2 separate regions of the Homo sapiens genome follow, and region 1 is linked to region 2. Evidence: promoter capture Hi-C in 16 types of primary human blood cells and fetal thymus (Javierre and others, 2016). All regions are on one chromosome and are shown on one strand. The core of a region is centred on a gene start or on the middle of the fragment in contact, and the rest is flanking DNA. Distances in the headings are between cores, read along the strand shown. Region 1 overlaps BUB1 (BUB1 mitotic checkpoint serine/threonine kinase). Region 2 holds the start of SLC20A1 (solute carrier family 20 member 1).

Region 1 (5,591 bases), core at 1,384-3,883, 2.0 Mb after region 2:
GCATCACCTGGGGTCAGGAGTTCGAGACCAGCCTGGCCAACATGGTGAAACCCCATCTCTACTAAAATACAAAAATTAGCCAGGTGTGGTGGTGGGCATCTGTAGTCCTGGCTACTCAGGAGGCTGAGGCAGGAGAATTGCTTGAGCCCGGGAGGCAGAGGTTGCAGTGAGCTGAAATCATGCCACTTCATTCCAGCCCGGGCGACAGAGTGAGACTCCGTCTCCACAAAAAAAAAAAAAAAAAAAAAAAAAAACCCATCCAATTTTTAATGAAAACCAAATTGCACTCTCAGGTAACAGAGAAAGCATTCTGATCATCATAATGCCCACTAAATAGCCCCAAAGAGCAGAGGCTTTGTCTTAGCATTTTAAAAGCTCAAACCTGCAAAAAAAAAATTGATAATTTCACTGTATTTGTAGGATTTTTTTTTAATTCAAAATTGACCAAAATACTTAATCTGGACTCCATCTATTTTGAATGGAATCAAATGTGTTTAATGCAACTTTTAAAGAAATACAGCCATTTCTTTTTCTTAGAACTAAGTATCACATTTCAGCAATAAGCATTGCCTATCCTATCTGGTTGTTTAAAATTATTAGTTAGGTTTTACATTTCTTTTGGGTACTTCCTGGCATGTTGAGTTGATCAGAAAATTGTATAATACTTATTTTAAAAACGTTTTAGTTGAAATTTCTGAGACAGTGTGAATGAGTTGATTTACTTCTTATGATTCCTACTGGAAGGATCAGGGGAATTTATTATGTGATAATTTTACTTACGGTTTTACCCTTAATTTCTCCGTATTTTATCCTCTTTTCCCTCATAGCTAGAACCTCAGAACCTCTGCATAATGTTCAGGTTTTAAATCAAATGATAACATCAAAATCAAATCCAGGAAATAACATGGCCTGCATTTCTAAGAATCAGGTAATAATGACATTTGTAGCTTGTGTGGAAACTGGGAATGGTATTGAATGGCCAGCCTGGCTGCCTTCTACATCCACTTTGACATCTCATTTCTTTGATCTTTCTCTTCATGGCTCTGAGCTCCATGTCAGCCACCTGCTCCTGTGGCAACTTCCTGGGCCTGTTATTCTCCCACACAGCTCACCTCAAATACAATTTGTTGTCTAACCCAGAGGCCCTCACCACACGGCCTCCTGTCTTTACTCTCCCCACCAGCTTTTCCCTTACCAATGTCCTTTCCTCTGTTCTGCTGGCCTCTGCATAGGCTCTGGAAATCCCTACTGGGAATGGATCCACCTGGGGGCTTCTGAGCCTGGCTTTCAAAACTCAGAGCCTCAAAGATTGCTGCCTGTTACCTCAAGTAACAGGGAGGTCTCATACTCCCAGGCAATGGGTCATACTCCCAGGCAATGGGACATGCTTCCAGTGTCTGATTCACTCTTTATGTTTTGTGTATCTCTTATGTTTCCAGGTTCACTCTAGCGCCAAACTATAGTGATTTTAGACTTCTTTTCAGTCTCTTCAAACTTGGGACCTCGCTACCTCTAGCCTCTCTCTCAGGAACTTCAAAAATACTATTTCAACAGATAGCAGATGCCATCAAGTGACATCTATCAGTTTTCTGCCACCAACCAATAAATGTAACTGCATCCTTCCCTGTGAGAAAAGGTGGCCTTCTATCTGTGCTTGTCCTTATCCTCATCAAGGTTTTTGCCCTGTGGAGATCTCTTCTGCCTCCATGGTGTATCAACATGGGAAAATGCTCAAGTCTCTCTTCTTCCCTCAGCCTCATGTTTCCCAACTATGTTTCCCATGTTACCCTCCACAGTACAACTTTCTTTCAAAGTTCATCAAGGACCTCCTTGAAGCAAAAGCCAATGGAAACGCCTGTGTGCTTAGGGTGTATGTACAGGTTTCATTAATGTAATACATTCTTAGAAGTAGAATATGCGCTCCTGACTTTGACAGGTAGTGCAGCTTGTCCCAATTTACATTTTACGTCCTACACATGCTTGCCACCCTCCTGACCACCTATTGTCCTGTCTAAGCTCCAGACAGTAGAGATGGGTCTTGATTGCAGTCACATTTCCCAGACCTAGCTCAGAGTGTGACATGGAGGTGTCTGGCAAATATTTGTTTAGTGAAGGAATTTGAGAACTCTTGAGGGCAGAGTAGTACCTGAGGAAAATTTTAATTAAAAAAAAAATTAGCAGCAGTTGGGAATGTCAATCCCATAATGTTCAGACACTATACTCTAGCTACTAGACTATGAATTGAAGGGAAATCAGCTATGGTTCTTCTCTACTGCTGAGTAGGACTTTATTAAAAACAAAACAACAACCAAAAAAACCTCTTTCTTTGATTAGATTAAGTTACAATAGTTATTGTAAGGTTGTTGATACAAACAATCTTTTGATATTAATCATAATTTAAAATTACATAAATCTACTTGGGATTAAGGTCCCTCTTCCCCTCAAGCATTTTCATATTGTTTTGTGAAGTAATTTGGGTGAAGCTTTCTTCTCAGATAAGTGAATGCTCATGTTTGTTTTCTGTTTTTTAGGGTTCAGAGCTTTCTGGAGTGATATCTTCAGCTTGTGATAAAGAGTCAAATATGCAAGTATAATCAGTGCATTAATCTATTATTAGTTTCCTTTAAGTGCTCTTAGGTACATTGTTGTAAATAATGTATTTTCCCCCATTGTAGGGAACGAAGAGTGATCACGATTTCTAAATCAGAATATTCTGTGCACTCATCTTTGGCATCCAAAGTTGATGTTGAGCAGGTTGTTATGTATTGCAAGGAGAAGCTTATTCGTGGGGAATCAGAATTTTCCTTTGAAGAATTGAGAGCCCAGAAATACAATCAACGGAGAAAGCATGAGCAATGGGGTACTTGCAATCTTGTATTTTTAGTTATTCTTATGTCACATAAAAAAATCCTCATCTCTGAGTAATTACTTTTTTAAAGAATAATTGACTATGTTGAAAGACTGCAAGAAAGTCTTCATCTCATCCTATCAGAAGCCCAGAAATCATTATTAACCCATTTTGCGTTTGCCCCGAGAAAACTGCGCTGGCAGCAAGCTGCACTTTTTTTTTCTGAATTGGAAATTGCTTAACCACTAGTGTAGCAGCCAAGTTAGTCCAAGGACTAAATTGATGTCTTGGCAGCAAACTCATAGTTGAAAGAGTACTAAATTAGATATCCATACCAGTGTCATCTTAGCTTTAGTGAAATAAATATTTAAAAATTTTTCAGTATTATCTGTATATAGTAATTCTAAACCTCTAGGTCAGTTATTTGAACCTTTATTCCACTCAGGACTTTTATACTATCTAAGTTATTTGGGCTATAGCCATTCTGGGCCTTTCTTTTCTGTTCATTACTTTTCATACTCGGTTGACAACAGAGAAGACAAGTCAGTTAACACAGAGGACTCATTTTGTGCTGGGCATAGATGTGTTTTTCTTTCACATGCTGTGACCAGAAGTTTTAAGCCAGACTCTTTGACTTGCCTGTGGCATGACTCTGTTAACCAGTTGTTGGAAATGGGACTGACCACAGCATGCTTGAAGCCCTGATCATTTAGTGCAGTTCACTTCTACTTAGAAAGTCTCTAGAAATTTTTATCTTATAAAAACAAATAAAAATTTATTTTAAAATGATTTGCACAATCATGATTGTTTACAAGAACAGTCATGTATATGATGGCTACAAAAATCTTTACTATTATACTGTGCTATTATTATTATTTTTGATCAGCATGTAGTTTTTTTTTTTTTTTAGTAATTTACATGTCCTAAACATGTAGTAGCCAAGCTGTGGGCAGGTAAAAATTAAAAGGTAATACAAGTTTCACTTCTAAAACCAAATATGAGAAAGACTAATAAAAAAATCGGCCCCCTAAAATATAACCCTTTCCTCATTTTGCATGTATTCCTATGATGACCTGGATTTAAATTTTGCATGCAAACCATTTCTATCTTTCCTAAAGTAAATGAAGACAGACATTATATGAAAAGGAAAGAAGCAAATGCTTTTGAAGAACAGCTATTAAAACAGAAAATGGATGAACTTCATAAGAAGTTGCATCAGGTGGTGGAGACATCCCATGAGGATCTGCCCGCTTCCCAGGAAAGGTCCGAGGTATGTTGTGCTCCTCATGACACATCCTGTGCCCAGCAGCAGGAATGGCAGTTTGATTTGTTCCTTTCTATGTGCTGTTTTAGAGTTAATTCTGATGTTAATTTAGCTAGTAACTTTCTGAAAGTCTAAAATAATTTGACATAGACGTTCACAATGTAGAGTGAGAGTGGAAAGTTACAAAACAGAATGGTAGTATGTTTTACATGTTTGTGTATGTGTACATGTCTATATATTCATGTATTTATATATAGACCTTTTTCTGGTTTTTGTACAGTGACTATTGTGTAATGAAAATTGGAGTATAGTACTCTCAATAATTTATCATTTAGATATATTTTTTGTTTGCCATTATTTCATCTTGGAAAAGCAGAGAAGTGATGAGTGTGTTAGAGCCACATATATTTTCTTAAAATTAGTAGTGAATGAAGGAGATTGGAAATAAACTCATTTAAACTGTATAATGGTTGCTTAATCTTTCATATTATATGTTTGTCTATGACATAGGATACGATGAAGATAAAATACTTTATTTTCTTACATATTTGGAAAGTATAAAAATATGTGACTAGATGGTTTTTTAAAATATCACATGAAAGGTGTGTATATATGTATATATGAAGGAGAGCATTCATTTGTATATATGTATGTATGTATGCATACACACACACACACACACACACACACACACACAAACATTCTTTTTCTTTTTTTTTTAATTTTTAGACGGGGTCTTGCTCTGTCACCCATGCTAGAGTGCAGTGGTATGATAACTGTTCATTGTATCCTCCTTAGTAGCTGCAACCACAGGCATGTGCCACCACACCCACCTAATTTTTTATTTTATTTTTATAGAGATGGGGTCTCGCCATGTTGCCCAGCCTGGTGTCAAACTCCTGGGCTCAAGCGATCCTCTTGCCTCAGCCTCCCAAAGTGTTGTGATTACAGGTGTGAGCCACCACGTCTGGTCTGAATGTTCTCCTTTATTGCTAACTGCTATAGTTTGTATTTTTCCAGACTTATTGTGTATGAAAACACATAAATATGAATACAATAGAACGTTCTACATAAATAAGACTTATTTTCTGCTTTTTCTACCTAACACCTCTGATAGATCTTTCACTGCTATTGCATAGATATCTAACTAATTCTACTTGCAGCATAGTCTTCTGTCATACCTTATAAAAGGGAGTGTATCATGTAGAAACTGTTAGAAATCATGCTACCTTTCAAGTGTATGTACCTAAAATGCTGTCAGTCTGCCCTCTATAAACTTCGGACTGTGCACTCACATTAACAGTGTGTAAAAGGACTTGTTTCTTGTACACATTTGGCTAACATTAACTATACTAAATCTTTTCAAGCACCTGATGTAGTTTCTTTAATTATAGGTAGATTTGGACATTTTTTGGATACATTTCGTGGCTGTTTAACTTCTTTCCTTTAAATTGACTGAATGGCTTTGTCCATTTTTCT
Region 2 (5,603 bases), core at 1,771-4,270:
AGTAGCAAGATATACAGTTCTAATGAAAACTCTAAAAAAAACAAAAAAATCTGGTCCATGACTACTGGTGAGCCTCTAATTTAAGCATCCCAGTATCATACACTACAGTTGTAGGGAGTGGGAAGGTAGATGCTTATCGTACCTGTCTGCTGAATAAAACAGTACCAAACTTAGGAGTCCATAAATATCAATGAACTGTTTACTCTCATATTATACCAGGCTAAAGATATTTCAAGTTTTCAAAGTGTTAAACTGCTATATTCTGCCAGATTCTGGCTATGGAAAACAGTGATTAGTGAATCACTTTACTAGTCATAGAATTTCTACAGAGAAGAGACAAATCTTTCCCTAGAGAAGCTTACAACTAGACCAGACAAGTGGGTCTGAATACATTCTTACCTGCTGGGATTTATGCTATCTCCCTCAGATTTCTACAGTTTAGGAACACTTTTAAGAACTTACAATGGATTGTTAAGAGCCATTCACCTTAGAAAAAGGACAACTTTGTTTCCTGAGAAAAATGCATTTATCCTCACTGTAACTCAGTCCTATGCCAACATAATCCCTTGTCAACATTTATTTTGCAGCCAGCAAGACTTCTTGATAAAAGAAATGCAAACTGGGTCACTTAAAAGGGATTTTCAAATGGACAGGAAATTAAATGGCTGCCTGAAGTTTTTTTGGGGGGCGGGCCAAAAACTACCTTTAACTGGTTCTTTTCAACTATTCTGAGAAATTGGAGTCAAGTCACTATGGGAGGCAGAGTCCTCATCTAGAAGCTTATAAACTGGTTATGATAATCAGCACGGCAGAGACCCATTTAACTGGCAGCTTAGTTAAAAAAGCCACAGGGGACACTGTCTTGAACTCCAAGTTTACGTATTATATTAGCCTGAATATAACAGTGGTTTAAACAAATAATGTGTATACAGCTACACAAAACCACGCAAAATAAATTTCCTTATTTTTTTGCTCCCAGTTTCTCCTACTTCTTGGCACATCATAGTATTCAATTTTTCCTTCCTGACTGCCCTCTTGAGTATTAAAAACTCGCTTTCAGAGAACTCCACAACATACAAGAAATGCACAGAACAAAGAGCTTTTTAAAATTTTCCAAGGCCGCATACCTATACACCAATCACATCTGCAAAAGTACCACTGGGTTTGAAATCGATTGGGTGTGCTCCATGAAAGGTCTTCATACGGGGGAGAAAGGTTACCTTATGGAGGATGAATGCACGAACCAGGAAGAATAAAATTCCAGACATAATTCCAGAAAGCAGTGGGGACACGAACCAAGACATCACTGGAATAGAACACATTAAGAAAAAATATCAAATAATGAAAATCAGAAACCAAAAACCACTTTAAATGTTTAAGAGTTCAAAATTCTTGGGTCTGTCCCTCGACGTTAGAACACATCCTCCCATACCTAATGCCATGGTAACATATGACGAAAACGAAAATTAAGAAGCCGTTTGGAATTAAACATACCAATTTTTATCAGTTCAGACCACTTGACACCCTCCTGCCCCTTTGCCACGAGGGAGAAACCAATAGTTGCACCAACAATACAATGGGTTCCAGAAATAGGGAGCTTCAAAAACGAAGCCACGAGTTGCCACACAGCAGAACCTGAAACATAGTAAAGTTTTATTAAGTAAATATCAAAATTCCATTATGTAAGTGGCACATTCAGAAAGGTTAATCGGAAAGGTTATGCACAAAAATGGAACCACCCATGATACAAATTTGCTCACCCACCACGAAGAGGACAAAACATAAAAAGAACTTACCAAACATAGCACTGACTGAGCCGGCCATCAGCAGCCCTTGAGTCGAGTTGTACATCTCCACGTCAATCAAGCCCTTCCGGATGGTTTCGCTCACTTTGGCCCCCAGTAAGACAGAGCCCACTGTTTCAAAGATGCTAGCTAGGATGCAGGCTTGCTTCAGGGTCACTACACCTGAGCCCACAGCTGTACCAAAAGAATTTGCTACATCATTGGCTCCCACGGAGAATGCCAAGACAAATGCAATAATGAAGCCCAGGATGAGCATCCATAGGTAGTCCACCAAAGGACCAGAAGCGGCGGTAGCAGCTGTAGTACTGGTAATCAGCGTTGCCATTCTCTGGAGTAGTGGTTGTTTAGTAAGAGAACTACTGAGCGCCTTTCAAGATGTGTAAACAGAATATGAGGTATCAAAAATGCTATAATAAATAATATATATTATATAAAATTAAATACTGTAAACTACGGCACAGAAACCGAGCTGGGGAGTTACTGCTATACGCTGCGTATGGGCATCTGTTGTCTGGGGTTTCTTTGGCTCAGGAGGGCTAAAAGCACGGAGCAGAATTCCATGGCGGAGAAGAGAAAGGACGCAAGTTCATCCTGCGGGGGAGGGGGGAAATAACAATAGCTGCGTGCCCCTGGGGGGCCAGTGGGGCACCCCGCTCTACCCACGCGCCCGGGGTCCCGCAATAGCCTCTGCCGGCTACTCCAGACCCCCATCCCCAGTAGGACGCGCGAGAAGGAGAGGCACGTGGCTCCGGGTCCTCCGCGGCCCGCGCGCGCCCAGCCCAGCCCCTGCGCTGCCAGCCCGCGCGCGCCCTCCGCGCGAAAATCGGAAAAGGGCCGTTCCCGCGCGCGCCGCCCGGGGACCGCCAAAAAGGCCCGCGGGCGGGCAGACGGGCGGAGTGGAGGCGGCCAGCGGCGAAGAGAGAAGCCAGCCGCGCCGCCCACGGCGTCCGCCTCCAGCGCCACGGCGTCCGCGCCCGGCCCCGGGGAGAAGAAAGAGCCTTTACGAGGCGGCGCCACTACTCACCAGGGAAAAGGGAGGGCGGAGCGGGAGACGAGGAGATCGAGGCGACAGCGGCTGGAGCCACGGGCACACGGCCCGGGTCGGCGGCACCGGGGACAGCTCAGCGGGACTCACGACCTTCCCAGGAAGCAGCCGCGGGGGTTTCAGCGGCCGAGAAGAAGAACCACGCAGAGAGCGCCGGCAGCCATCACTCCAGCGGAGCACCCCGCCGGCCCCTACTTATAGCCCGCGCAGCGACCCGCGTGACCCCGCCGCGCCTCGCGCCGGCCCCGAAGCCCCGCCCCCGGCATGACGCAGCCCTCCTCGGCCCGGCGTGCCCAGCCGGGTGAGCCCGACGGTGGCGCTCATTGGCCCGGCCCGCTTCGGCGGCCACGCCCCCAGCGGGGAGCCGGTCCACGTGGGGCGGGACAGCCCCCTCCCTGCGGCCTCGCCCTGGAGTCTCGGCACCGTCTGGCCCCGCCGGCTGATTACAGCCAGAGATCGAGGGGGACCTCGCTGTCCCCCTAGAGGCCGTCATGCGGGGTTACAGAGGCTGCGACCAAAGTCATTCCTAGCTCCTCTCTCGGGGCTCCGGAAAGCCGTCCGCGCCTCCAGCCGCACTTTCAGCGCACGCAGGACCTGCCGCGCCCGGTGGCCACACCCGTCCCTCTGCCGGGTGACGCTGCGGGAGATCTTGCGCCCTGGGGCTCCGGATCCAGTTCTGGCACGTTGTTGCACCTGTGACTTGTCCTTGGCCTGGCACTGTCCCTCGCCTGGGGGAAGCGGGGGGGTGGGGGGGGGATGCTCACGTGGTCGCTTTGCTCCCGCAGTCATGCACTTGGGTGAAAACAGACTGAAGAGTCACGGGAACCAGCTTGTCTCCCCAGTTATGGCGCAGAGCTGCAAGGATGGCTGTGGGTCATTAATTTCTCCGTGGCTGACCTGTGTTTGTAACGCCGCAGCTGTTGCGAGGGGGAAGGACACTGCTTCGGATTCAAATTCTGACTCCTTGCTGCAGTGTGTCACCTTGAGCCAGTCCCAGATCTCTGCGTTCTCACAATTGTAAAATGTTAACAGAGGCTGCCTACCTTGTGGCTGGAATTAAATGAATTAACGTGTGTGAATGTGACTAGAATTCAGTACATGTTCAGGAAAAGCTGATTTCCGCTTTGCTGTTACCGTGAATATTACTGTTTTAGGGTGTAGAAAAGGGTGGAAGGGGATGTTATTGCATCCTGGAAGCTTATCCTTTTGAGGTAAAGATTGATTTCTGGTCCCCTGCGTGGTATATAGTGTAGTTTTGACATTATTTAGATGTGTTATGCACATTTGGGTGTTGATTATATGGCTTACGATCAAGACTAACCAGTCATGCCGTGGGAGATTAAGGTCGTGGTCTCTTGTCAGGATTGTAGTGAGATTTAAAAATTCCAGCCAGAAATACCAGGCTTAGAATGCTCTGAAGCCCTCCCCACATTTTTGCCATCTCTAGCAGGAGGGCACTGCATAGCAGAAACAAAGACGTTGTAAATTGTTGCTGCCTGAGTCATTTATAGAGGCTTAAACAACCTGAATGTCCTCTGACCTACCTGTAACATTTGATGGAGTTGTATGAGTAACTTACAAAGCTGTAGGTCCCAAGGTCGGTCTGAAAAAGAAAGTTCATATCCGGGAGCACTGACCCCGTAGTGTAATCCTGGCACCTTAAAACGTACTGCTCCCTCCACCTTCACTTCAAGGTTATGAAAACATTGAGTAAAAGGGATGATCTGTTCAAAGTCCTTAGTGTTCTGCCAATTTAAAACAGTAATTTTCAAAGCAGTTATTTGCAAGGAAATTGCCTAGAACTTCTCCCAGTGTGCGGTTGTTTTGTGTGTTTGTGTGTGTGTTTTGTTTGTTTGTTTTCAGTCTGTCCACAGGCGTACTTTTATAGGTCTGTGATAGTAGGTAGCTCTTCAAGTTGGCAAACACCTGCTGGACAACCCCTGAGAGATTCATCTGAGTGAGAGAGCACTCTCCAGCCCCATCGGAGTGGGTTTGCAGGGAAATCATAAGGTAGAGATTCAAAGGAATTCCCTTGCGTTGCAAATGAAAACTGTATCTTCAGACTCTGATATAGTGTAATCCTTCCTTTTTAGGAAGAAATCCTTATCTTTCCAACACTGAGATGCTTCTGCCGAAGAGTAGAATGGGAGGTGAGGAATTGGGGTGGGCCCTCACTGCTTTGCCTCCGGATCAGTAGGGTACAGCCCTTGGAGACCAGGATCTTCCTTGGCTGGGACACCTTCGTCCTCCCCTAAGGGAGGAGAGGTAGGGATCTGCCTGTGGAAAGAAGTTACAGTGCCTTTTAAATAGAAATAGGAGGTAGGAGGACCGTCAGTTGTCAGTTCGTGCACAAATGGCATTGTTTCTGGCCTTATCTCTGAATGCTGAGGAAACAGGTCAGAGATCCTAAAGAGAATCTAATCTCTTAGAATCCAGGCATTGGCACAAACCCCCTCTAGCATCTTAGGGAGGTGGTTTGGTGTAGTGGTTAAACACATAGACTGTAAGACCAAACCACCTGCTCTGTCACTCACTAGTCCTGTGACCATAGGCAAATAAATTATCTGCCTCAGTTTCCTGATCTGTAAAGGGGTGAGATTGAGACTTCTAACTCACAGTGCTGTTGTGAGGACCAAATGAATGAATATATGTAAAGCCCTTGTAAAAGGGCTCTTATTCTCTTTGTTCAATAACTAGCTGAAGGCCTGTCATACATAGCCCATGTTTAAAATGAAGTATGTGTCAGATGTCAG

Evidence for each region. Contacts are between HindIII fragments. The CHiCAGO score rates a contact against its expected background, and 5 or more counts as called.
Region 1: a fragment that was not itself captured here is called in contact with the fragment with the promoter of SLC20A1 in region 2 in 1 of 17 cell types (fetal thymus); the score reaches 6.4 in fetal thymus.

What each region holds. Positions count from the first base shown.
Region 1 is chr2:110,664,790-110,670,380 of GRCh38, reverse strand. It overlaps BUB1 (BUB1 mitotic checkpoint serine/threonine kinase), which reads left to right. Exons shown (of 25, transcript NM_004336.5): 6 at 828-928; 7 at 2,532-2,584; 8 at 2,676-2,860; 9 at 3,967-4,118. Among named protein-coding and RNA genes, the nearest start is that of SNORD132, 9.3 kb to the right of the region's middle. The HindIII fragment of the contact is 295 bases long and covers 2,486-2,780 here.
Region 2 is chr2:112,643,356-112,648,958 of GRCh38, reverse strand. SLC20A1 (solute carrier family 20 member 1) reads right to left here and starts at 3,020. Exons shown (of 11, transcript NM_005415.5): 1 at 2,830-3,020; 2 at 1,797-2,396; 3 at 1,495-1,635; 4 at 1,221-1,306. The coding sequence starts at 2,130. SLC20A1-DT (SLC20A1 divergent transcript) reads left to right here and starts at 4,779. Exons shown (of 5, transcript NR_033871.1): 1 at 4,779-4,860; 2 at 4,944-5,000. RefSeq lists silencers at 1,773-2,067, 2,529-3,358. The HindIII fragment of the contact is 3,268 bases long and covers 782-4,049 here.